Linked DNA regions of Homo sapiens: all the other regions are linked to region 1. The links are contacts of gene promoters, found by promoter capture Hi-C in human tissues and cell types (Jung and others, 2019). All regions are on one chromosome and are shown on one strand. The core of a region is centred on a gene start or on the middle of the fragment in contact, and the rest is flanking DNA. Distances in the headings are between cores, read along the strand shown.

The links. Contacts are between HindIII fragments. The study calls those that stand out against the background at their distance.
Region 2: a fragment that was not itself captured here is called in contact with the fragment with the promoter of GPC1 in region 1 in 1 of the 25 tissues and cell types used here (lymphoblastoid cells).
Region 3: a fragment that was not itself captured here is called in contact with the fragment with the promoter of GPC1 in region 1 in 1 of the 25 tissues and cell types used here (lymphoblastoid cells).
Region 4: a contact is called between a fragment that was not itself captured here and the fragment with the promoter of GPC1 in region 1, in 1 of the 25 tissues and cell types used here (dorsolateral prefrontal cortex).

The regions. Positions count from the first base shown.
Region 1 is chr2:240,434,290-240,437,083 of GRCh38, reverse strand. It overlaps GPC1 (glypican 1), which reads right to left and starts at 1,421. Exons shown (of 9, transcript NM_002081.3): 1 at 1,000-1,421. The coding sequence starts at 1,165. RefSeq lists enhancers at 1-48, 1,782-2,358, 2,758-2,794 and silencers at 1,173-1,232, 1,293-1,952. The HindIII fragment of the contact is 16,928 bases long and covers 1-2,794 here.
Region 2 is chr2:240,834,623-240,837,416 of GRCh38, reverse strand. No RefSeq gene overlaps it. Among named protein-coding and RNA genes, the nearest start is that of KIF1A, 16 kb to the right of the region's middle. The HindIII fragment of the contact is 6,293 bases long and covers 1-2,794 here.
Region 3 is chr2:240,070,465-240,073,258 of GRCh38, reverse strand. No RefSeq gene overlaps it. Among named protein-coding and RNA genes, the nearest start is that of OR6B3, 18 kb to the right of the region's middle. The HindIII fragment of the contact is 5,248 bases long and covers 1-2,794 here.
Region 4 is chr2:240,130,850-240,133,643 of GRCh38, reverse strand. It overlaps COPS9 (COP9 signalosome subunit 9), which reads left to right. Exons shown (of 3, transcript NM_001163424.2): 3 at 2,556-2,794. The coding sequence ends at 2,593. Among named protein-coding and RNA genes, the nearest start is that of COPS9, 4.1 kb to the left of the region's middle. The HindIII fragment of the contact is 5,894 bases long and covers 1-2,794 here.

The sequences.
Region 1 (2,794 bases), core at 172-2,671:
GTTTTGTTCTTGCCCACTGGGTCCCTGGCACGCGGTACAGACCGAGGTTGGTTCCCACACGTGGAAAGGTGAAGCTTGGGTTCCAAGAGTTCCTTAGCACACGGAGCCCACCGTTCCACCCACCCGTACACTTCTGTCCCCAAAGCTCCTCCGGGACCACAGGGAGGGAAGAGGCAGAGCCGCAGGCGGCTGCAGGGCTTAGGGGGCGCCAAGAGGGCCGCTGTTCTTACAAAGAAATGACACGGCCCCTGGGCGGGATCCAACGCGCCGACCACCTGCAGCTGGACTCGCGGCACGAGGCTGCCCAAGCGCCAGGCGGGGGCCGGCGCGTACAAGTTCTTCGACAGGAATCTCTACGAGGCGGCGGCGTTCCGCCCGCGGATAAGTGCCCAGCTCCCTCCCCACCCCTCCGCACTACCCCCCGAGGGGGTCAGCTTATAAAACCCACCTAGGCTGCCTTTGCTGGAGACCCTACGAGAATCCCCGGGCAGGACCGGAGACGCCTCCCAGAGAGGTCTGTACAGAGCAGAAGGGGTCCGCGGCCACCGTCAGCGGCGCCCCGAAAGCCCGGCCACGCCGAGCCCCACAGCGCCCCGACAGCCGGCCCCGGGGCTGGGACTCCCGGCCTGCAGGCGCGCTGGGCCGAGCGGCGGGCAGAAGACGCCCAGCTCCAGCCGTGGCCCGGGAGGAGCGCCCCGAGCCCGCAGCCCGGCGAGATCAGCTCCGCAGGGAAGAAGCCGGCGTGCGGGGGGCGGGGAGGGGCGGAGGACGACCGAGCGGGGCGGAGGAGACCCTGGCGAGGGAGTGCGGCGCGGGGCTTGGAGGCGAGGGCCGTGGGGTTGCAGAGGAGCCGCAGCGCAGGGAGCCATTCGGGGCCCGGGCGGCGGGGCGCAGGCGGCAGGATCCCGCGCCGGGGGCGAGTAGCCGCGTCGGGAAGACCAGGGTCCGGAGCCCAAAGCCCGGCCAGGCCCGGGTTCCCGGCGCCGCGCCCTCACTCACCCGAGATCTCCGCCTGGGGCACGTCGCTCAGGCTGAAGCCCTTGGCTCCGTAGATCTGGCGGACCTCGCCGCAGCTCCGGCTCTTGCTGGCCGGGTCCCCGCGGGCGCAGGCGACCAGCGCTGCGGCCGCACATAGCAGCCACCAGCCTCGGGCCCGGAGCTCCATGGCGGGGCCGGCGGCGCCCCCGGCCACCCGCCCGCGCCTCTCTCGGATCCTGGCCGGGTCCTGCGCAGTTCCCGCCCGCGAAGGGCAGAGCCAAGGTCCCGGCGCGCGCGGCTCGCGGTCCAGAGGCGGCGGCGGCCGAGGAGGCGGAGACAACAAAAGCCGGCGGCGGCGGCGGCGCGGGGCGCGCGGGGTGCGAGGTCCGAACGCTCGCTCGGGCAGCCCAGAGCGCGGCGGGCTAGCGCAGTCCCGGCTCGGCGCCTCCCCCGCCGCCGGCCCGGCCCCTAGGCGGCCGCGGGAGAGGAGAGGGGCGGGGCAGGGTGGGAGCGCAGGGGTGGGGGAGGGACTGGGAGCACCGGGCGGGGCGGGGCGGGGCGCGGCGCGGGGGCGCGGGCCGGGGCGCACTGGGCGCTCCTCTGGCTCTTAGGGACCCAGAGGGCCCGCCTGGCCGCGCGACTCTATCGATCCCCGGCGGGAGGCGGCGGAGCCGGGCAGCGCGGGGCCGCGGCCGGGGTCCCCGAGGGCGGCCCCCCACGCCCAGCGCCCAGGGCGGTGGCACCACCTGTGGGGGCGGGGACGGGGGCGGAGGGTGCGCGAGGCAGGGCTTCCCCCGCCGGACGTGACATCACGCCTCCCGCGCCCCAATCAGGGGCCTCCCCGCCCCCAGCCGAAATCGGCATCCCGCTCCCCGCTCCCTCCCGCGCGCTCCGGCTTCCTGCACCCTGGCAGCGCGCCCCGAGAACGCTCTCCCGGCGCCTCCGTACCCTCCGCCCGCCGGCCGCGCCTCGAGCCGCCGCCCCTCTCCCCGCCTGCACCCCGCAGCGGCTCCCTCCCCGCGCCCTTCCAGCCGTCTCGCGCTGGGCTCCGGCTCGCACCGGGGGCTTTTGTGGTGTGGGGGCTGCACGCAGGAAACTCGCCAAGAAACTCGACCTCACCTCTCCCAGTCCCAGGGAGCGGCAACAGATGGCTTAATTGTTGGACCTTGACAGCTGTTTTGGGGGGGTGACCCTCCACGTTCTTTGGATGCTGGAGAAACCAAAGTGATGGGGCAGGGCCGGTCTACTGGTTTGGGCTGCTGGGTGGGGCCAGATGACCTCTGGAGAAGGGATAGGGTTGGAACCCGGCGACTAGTTAGGCCACTGGGGGAGGAGGGTGGAGTGAGCCGGAGCAGATGCCTCTTTGAAGAAGGCGGGAGGGCTGCCTGCACCTTGTATGGTAGGAGGGCGCGTGGCTTTAGCTGCACATGGGGAGTTGGGCTGGATGGGGTCTGTAGGGAGGGGGCGAGGACTGCGATGTTGGTGTCTGGAGGGCTTCACTCCTTCCTTGGCTCCCAGACCCCCCACCCCGGCCCCCTGTTCTCCACATGGTAAGGCCTGGCGGTGAAGCCAGGTGCCTGAGCTGCAGAATTGGGGGCAGGCATAGAGGTCAGTATCCTTGGCAGAGAACCTCAAGATGACCCCCATGTACAGCAAGGGTGTCCTGATTTCAGGGCCTGTGGCATCACCTGGAAGCTGCAGCGGGGTCCGTGGTGGGGGTGGTGGCAACATTCCCTACCCCTTCTGTGCCTGGGGCTCTCAGCCGCTGTGTGGGGCTGGAGCAGGAAGGTGGGGTGCCCTCCCCCTGGGCTCTTGG
Region 2 (2,794 bases), core at 106-2,605, 400 kb before region 1:
TCTGTCATCAGAAAGATGGCAGGTTGCCCTGGGGAGGATGGTGTCTTACTCGGTTCCGTCCCTGCCAGCATCTAGCACTGTGGTCAAGTCCTCTACATGCTGTCCCCAGAGAACCTCTAGTCCCCAGCCTCCTGCTCTGTGTGTAGGCTGACAGCAGAATCCAGACCCAAGTCACTGGGGAGCACCCAATTTGCTTCCTCTCCTCCTCAGCTAAGGGTGAGCAGCAGGGGTGACCCCAGCTATTAGCCCCACCTAGCACACAGCACAGCGGCCCTGCAGAGGGGCAGCCCTTCCCACTGCCATGCTGCAGCTCCAGACACAGAGGAAGCTCAGGGCTTCCAGGGTCTTTGTGGATGAACAGATGAGGGAAAACTGGAGGGACTGGGAGCAGCAAAAGCAGAGGGGTAGGGGACTTGGACTGACGTGTCAACAGCTAACACTTCGTTCTGGTCCTGGTCCCCAGGAGCAGCTGGTCCTGGTCCGGGAGCAGCTGCCTGCCGACACGGCTGCGCTGCGATGGGATCTGGCCCCAGCCCAGTTGCTGCTGGCCAGACACTGAGTCAGCACCCGGCCGTCCAGTGCGCCACAAGCAGATCCCGGCAGAGCTGCCCACGCTGTGCAGATCCCCGGTGGGCCTCCCGGGCTAGAGCCCGGGGACCCATTCACTTGGGGCCCTACCAGTCCCTACCCTTGGTTGGCTGGGGGCTGCCCAGCCTGGGCCCCACCCACCCAGGGCTCTGGTTTCTGAGTCCGGGGCCCAGCAAAGCCCCTCTTTCACTCCTTCCTGAAATGGGATCATGACCCTGGTCCTACCTCTGAGTGATTCTGATGTGAGATTAGGGATTGTGCAGGGATGGGGGTGTGATCCTGCAATGACGGACTCCTAGGCCTCCTCCCAGCCCCGCAGAGTCCAAATCCCCAAGGCAGGGGCTGAGGAGGGCGAGGCTCATAGAACCCAGGACTCCTGGGGGTCCTGAGCATCTGGGGCCTCCCGGCTCTCGTGACTTCACATCCTGGCCTCTTCCCACCCACTGGAGCTCTGAGGGTCTCAGCCTCTCTCCACTTGACATCTCTTTCTTTCTTTCTTTTTTTTTTTTTTTGGAGACGGAGTCTCGCTCTGTCGCCCAGGCTGGAGTGCAGTGGCACGATCTTGGCACACTGCAAGCTCTGCCTCCTGGTTTCACGCCATTCTCCTGCCTCAGCCTCCCGAGTAGCTGGGATTACAGGCGCCCGCTACAACGTCCGGCTAATTTTTTGTGTTTTTAGTAGGGACGGGGTTTCACCATGTTAGCCAGGATGGTCTCGATCTTCTGACCTTGTGATCTGCCCGCCTCAGCCTCCCAAAGTGCTGGGATTACAGGCGCGAGCCACCGCGCCTGGCCTTCTTTCTTTCCCACTCATGCGTGTATACATACACACACACAGACACACACAGACACACACACACACACACACACACACACAGACACACACACACGCCCCTTCCCAACAAACTGTCCCAAACCTAATGTGGATAAATACAGAATGTGGTGCTAAGTGTCTCCAAAAACGCAGCAAGCCTCGGCCTCCTTTTCTGTCCACTGCACTGAGAACTCCAGGTCTGGGAGTTCCCTGTGGTGTGAAGGGCACCTGTGTCATTTGCCGCCCAAGCCGGGCACTGTGAGAGTGAAAGAGGGCATGGGCACAAAAGCACAAGGCAGGACTGTCCTGCTGGGCCTGGACACGGGGTCACCCTCAGCAGCCCCAGGGTCAGAAACTGGCGCGACTATCTTCAGAAATCCCACGTTGGTGCAATTCATCGTGGCTCCTCCTCACCCTCTTCCCCTCAGGATGACCCAGTTTTGGGTTTGGTCCTCAAGAGTCTCCAATAAACATCTTCACCAGACCTGTTTCCTGGGGCAAAAACCTGGTTGTTTATTTCTCTTTATGACTTCTATAAACATTTGGATTTTCAGGAGAAAAACAAGAAATAGGGAGTGGACACTTGTTCTTCTAGCAGAGGAATGGGAAGGGCCATTCATCTGGCATCGTCTGTCCTGCGTCCTGGTCCTGACTCCCTTCTGAGCCTCAATTTCTCCATCCGTAAAATGGGGAGGAGGCCTGGACCCCAGTCCCAAGCACAGAGTAATGATTTTGAGAACATATGTCCACTAAAACAGGATGGAACAAAAACACAGTCACTGTGGGCGAGCATTTGGAAGTGTGTAAGGAGGAAATGCTGCTTTGCATCTTCTCTCTGCCCATCTGATTCTCCGGCAGGCAAGAGGTGATCATAGCCAGGACTTCTCCTGATTGATGGCTGCCCATGCCAGGGGTCCCAGGGCCCAGCCACACACAGAACCACTTGGCGTGCTTAACTAGGAGCCCCCATAACTCACGGAGAACAATGGAGTCAGGATCTCTGAGGGATACAGCAGGGTGATTCTGATCTGCAGCCAGGGTGAGCACCCTGCGTTAGAAGGTACTACCAGCCTCCATGGCTGAGCTGGGTGGAAGCTGTTTATGAATGACGAGGATTTGGGAGGGGTGGGCTTGAGTGGGGAGAGGTCATTGCCAAGCCTTAACATTAGTGCAGAGAGAGGCTGACCTCATGCCTCCATTGGTGAAAAGCCAGGCTGGGGGCTTCCTACCAGGGAACCTGCTTCCTCCCATCCTCTAAGCACTGCCTTGCTCTGGCCCCAAAGAAGCTACTGGAGTTGGGGGAAGGGTATTCAGCCAAAGACCTGGCTCAAGTCAATCTAGAGCATCCTCTGACCCTCAGGGGCCTTTTCAAGTGTCTCAGCCTTGGTGTCTT
Region 3 (2,794 bases), core at 220-2,719, 360 kb after region 1:
ATAAATAGAAAAACCTGGAAACAATATCCAAAACATGCTAGGCGAGTGAAAAATAATTATTGGGATATATTGAGAATTCTTACACATCAATAAGAAAAAGATTTTTAAAAAACTAACTGGAAGGCCAGGCGTGGTGGCTCACACCTGTAATTCCAGCACTTTGGGAGGCCGAGGCAGGTGGATTATGAGGTCAGGAGATCGAGACCATCCTGGCCAACACCGTGAAACCCCGTCTGTCCATTGAGATGGACAGACTGGACTCCATCTCAAAAAAACAAAACAAAACAAAACTAACTGGAGATGGACAAAGGTTAGAAACGCACAAATATAGGAGAGGAAATACAAATGAACGATCAACATGAAAAGATTGTAAGTCTCAATGATAAACATCAATTTTCCATGAACAAAGTAAACTATGAGGTTAAATATGCTCAACCTCAATGAAGAGACATTAAATTTCAATGATTGGGGAAAATAAAACCCGAAATAGTTATGTTTTGTTCATAAGTTTGTCAAACATTAAAAGGATCGCTGGCACCTGGTTTTTGATAAGAATGTCATCTTCACTTGGTTATCTCAGAGATCTCTCATAATGGACCTATCCAAAAAAATCCTCTCTTAATCTTTCCTTCCCAATCTCTTCTTTATTTCATTTCTGGATCTTCCATTCATCACTCAAGCCAAACATCTGAAATTCTTAAAAACATCTTTTTCTTTCTCTTATAATATCTAACTTATTTCCAGTCATAACCTGCATCATTAAGACATTTAAAAGTGGAAACAAGGCCCAGCACAGTGGCTCATGCCTGTAATCTCAGCACTTTGGGAAGCCGAGGTGGGCAGATTGCTTGAGCTTAGGAGTTCGAGACCAGCCTGAGCAACACGGCAAAACCCCACCTCTACAAAACATACGAAAATTAGCCGGGCATGGTGGTGCACACCTGTAGACCCAGCTACTTGGGAGAATGAGGTGGGAGGATCGCTTGAGCCCAGGAGGTTGAGGCTGCAGTGAGCTGTGATCATGCCACTGCCCTTCGGCCTGGACAACAGAGTGAGAACCTAACTCAAAGAAAAGAAAAGAAAAGCGAAAACAATAACACAAGTTTTAGCATATGTAGGATAACTTCATTCATGTTAAAAATATTCAATACATATCCATGTGAAAATCAATGTATATAAATGCAAAGGCAAATAACTGGGTGATGTAAGTCTATTTACATCACTTACTTCTGCCAAGGATAATGGGGAAGGAAAAGGGAGATTGGAAAGTAAGAGGGGGCTTCAGTGTCTCATTTCTTATTCTTATAAATTTATAGACTTCTTTCCATGTGACTGTGTTTCCAAGAAATAAGATAGCTGAATCGATAAACTTATTGTTTTAAAAAATATGAACTAACAGACAGCTACAGCTATTATGACAATTCCCCATAAATACCCAAACCCATTTTCCATGTTTTATTTATATGTTCTAAACGCTTTGTTGCATATTCCTCCAGATTATATATTTCTGGGTGCCTATCTCTGTGTCTGTCTGTTATTTTCTCCCTCTCTTTTTCTGACAGAGTCACAGTTTTTCTCTATATGGGTGGACTACAGTTTACATGCTTTATTTAACCAATGTCCTATTGAAAGATTTTTTTTTTTTTTTTTGGCAGGGTCTCACTCTGTCACCCAGGCTGGAGTGCAGTGGCCCGATCTCAGTTCACTGCAACCTCTGCCTCCCGGGTTCAAGTGATTCTCCTGCCTCGGCCTCCCGAGTAGCTGGGATTACAGGTGCACATCACTATGCCCGGCTAATTTTTGTATTTTTAGTAGAGATGGGGTTTCACCATGTTGGCCAGGCTGGTCTCGAACTCCTGACCTCAGGTGATCTGCCTGCCTTGGCCCCCCAAAGTGCTGGGATTCTAGGCCTGAGCCTCCATGCCCGGCCCCTACTGAAAGATTTATAAGTTGTTTCTTATATATTTATAATTTGTTTCTTATATTTCCATTGTTTCCTAAGGGACTGCAACAAAAGTCTGTCTGCACCAGAACAATGATTTTTGGAGGCGAGATTCATAATAATAGATGAAGAGTGTCAGAAGGTAGGTTCCTTTTACAAGGGCTGATAAATTATCCTCCAAACATGAAATGCTAATTAACACTTCAAAGTGCTGAGTTGGCCTATTTCCCCACAACCTGTGATGATTAAATTTAATTAGTATTTTTGAATTTCAGCTACTCTGACAGGCCCGAAGAAAAAATAATACTTCAATGTTATTTGTCAAACCGTATTCACTTAATTTTAAGTGATGTCAATCATATTTTCTTACATTTTTTGGCCACTGATAATTCTTTTTTTGAAGTTTTAAATCATATTCCGTGTTTATCTTGGAATATAGAAGCTGTTGGAAAGTTTACCTTTCGTGAATCCATTTTTTAAAATTACTAGAAATTTGACCAAATGATGCTTGACTTGGGATAAAACATCAATTTAAGAAAAATAAATGTTCAAGAAACACAGCAGTGAATAATGAATTCAGAGGCCGGACTTCCAAAATGGTGGCATGAGGGTTTCTATAAATCTGATCCTCCAGGCCAGGTGCAGTGGTTCATGCCTGTAATCCCAGCACTTTGGGAGGCCGAGGGGGGCAGATCACTTGAGGTCAGGAGTCTGGCCTGGCCAACTTGGTGAAACCCCCATCTCTACAAAATATACAAAAAAAATTAGCTGGGCATGGTGACAAATGCCTGCAATCCCAGCTACTCGGGAGGCTGAGGCAGGAGAATTGCTTGAATCCAGGAGGTAGAGGTT
Region 4 (2,794 bases), core at 195-2,694, 300 kb after region 1:
ACTGTAGCCAGGTCTGGGCCCTCACCCCACACACGGCCATAGGAACCCCATCTGTCTCCCTGTCTCCGCCCTCTCCGGGTAGCCGGTTTCCTTTCCTCTCCCAGCCCACCTGTGTTTGCCTGCCTGGGTTCTCATGCCCTCAGCTGCCTTTGCAGAGGGACAGCCATACTCCAGCTCTTGCCCAGCTCTGAAATCAGGACGCAGGATGTGTTTTCCTCTTGATTTAAGGGCTTCAGTGCTAGTTACCAAAAACATGGGTAAACCAAATGAACAGTGAAAAGCAAATTTTCTGTAACATCTTCAGACCTGCTAGAGGGAATATTTCTCATTCTCTTCTGATTTCTTCAGGCCTTATTCCTATAGATGATATTAACCTTTACTAAGGGTTCAAATAATAAGTAAATAAGATAGGTTTCTTACTCCAGAGAGTGAGGTGGCATTTTTCATCCTGGTTTAATCCATGGTGCTTTTCTCTACAGAAAGCTCTTGTTACTAGTTAACAGCTAGGACCTGAGCTTGCCACATCGGTTTCTAATTTACCAGAGACCCCCTGCCATCCTGAGTCCCTGCTGCTTCATCAGGCTTACTGTCAGGCAGCCATTGCCTGAGGGGAGCAGCCAAGCTGCTGAGTTGGGGTGCAGGCTTTCCCAGGGTGCCTGGCCATGCCCCTGAGGCAGCATTCTTACTGCTACCAACTGGAGTCAGAACTGAGGCAGATGACATTTGAGATGAGCCTGGAGAACTGAATAGCATTTATTTCAATTCTTTATGCCAGAGCGAGGTGGGAGAAGGGTGTTGCCTTCAGAGGGAACAAATTGTACAAAGCTGCAGAGCGCTCTCCAAAGCTGCTTTGCAAAAACACCAGCTCACCAGGGCGACTTTGAAGCTTTTCACGTGGGCAGGATTGGGCAGTTGCTAATGCTGGCACCACACGCTTGCATTTTGATGATCTCCTTCAAAGTCCCATTTATCCTCTGCCAGCCCATTGGTTAGAGGCGATTGCTGTGTTCTAGTGTTTGAGTTCACATGACTTCCAGAGTCAGCCCTTGAATCCTGACGGGAAAGCATCTCTGAGAGGGACCCAGGTCCTACCCGTCAGGTGAGCGCCCAGCAACCTGAGCATTGTGGGCGCGTGTCTGCCTTTGAGCCACGGCCGGTCAGGGAGGGGACGCAGGAGAGCTCTGTGTCCCCTGCCTGCCCACCCACTAAGTTCACAAAGCACTCACTGTCCCATCAGGTTGTGACAACCCCATGTGTTCAAGAAGCCATTTACTTTGAGAGACCTCTGTGGGCTGTGGATGAGGCTTTTGCTAAGTCCTTTTTACTCGTCAAACAGATGGGTTTGCTGGGCTGTTACACCCTGGGCACCAGGGTTCTAGCCACGAAAGAGACACTCTCTCTTCCCTCGCCATGTCTTACAAAATTGTGGGTCCAGACAAGTCAGCAGGCAGGGGCTGGACTGTGACAAGAGCCCTGGCAAAGCGTGGACGGCATTGTTTCTGGGAGCACTGCAGAGGGAGGTTTCTCCAGAGGGGGCAGCAGAGCAGAGGTCGGAAGGTGTGGAGTCAGCCAGGCCCAGGACTGCGCAAAAGTGCTCCTAGCGGCGAACCACAACCAGCAGTCGGGAGGCAGTGAGGACGTGGGGGTGCATCAGTGTGGCTGGGGAGCGTCGGGACCCTCTGCAGTATCCAGAGATGCCTCAGGGACGCCACCCTCCCCAGGAAGGCTGGATGCTGTGGTGCCAGCAGGCCCCTTTCTCTTCGCTCTGACCCTCCAGGAGTTGAACCTCCTCTTTCTAGTTCATAATTCATACTGCACATTTTCAGTGCGCAGTACATGTGGGTGGGCTTTTAGTTGTATTTTCACCTCCCATTGTGAAAGTGATGATTGCCTGTAGTAGGGAATTTGAAAAACACAGAAGACTAAACAGAAGGACAAAATCTTTCCTGGGGGGCCTGATTTTGATCACCCAAAGCAGGGCACTACGTGTTTGCTGCGTTTCTTCCAGTGAGAATGGGCCTTAGCAGGTGTTTCTCAGGCTTGAGTATCATTCACGCTCCCTTACTGGAGGCTTCACCTTTCTGCAGCCTAGCCCGGCTTTCTCATGCTCACAGCGGCAGCCGGCTGGTTTCCCTCTGCTCTCAAGGACCCAGCACGTGCCTCCCAGCTTCATCTCTCCCCGGCCCCGGCAGCGAGGGCAGCATCTTGGGTGCCCGTGCACTCGTGGGTGCAGACACGGCACTGGCGTGTCCTGAGTGCTGAGTTGTGGCTGTGCGGTGGTGTCCGTGGGACTCAGAACAGCCCTGCATGCATTTTCTTAGGATTGTCTTTTAAATGAAAGCTAGAAAGCACTCTAGCCAACACTCTCCCCTTGGACTACATGTACGAGCCCTGGTTGGCTGAAACTGAAAGTCTGTTACGGGAAAAGTCTTTTATTTCATTGGATCATTGACGATTATCTCTGTATTTTGGACTACTATATAATTCATTCTGAAGTGATTTCTTCAGCCCTTACCCTTGTAGGTGTAACTACGTGGTTTTGCTTATTTCCCTAGATTTTGAAGATCTTTTTGATGATGATGACATCCAGTGAGATGCCCTCTGGCTGCAGGCGGGGCCAAGCCCTTGGTACAGAGCCGCAGTGTGAGCCTGCGCAGGACAGTTTCAGGTGGTTTTAAAGAACACGTGGAAATCCCTTGAATTTAGGACCTGGTTAACCAGAAAGATAAGACTGTTCTTAACGACCTAGATGATTCTGTTCATCTCTGAACGGGATCAGGTTTTGTCCTCACTC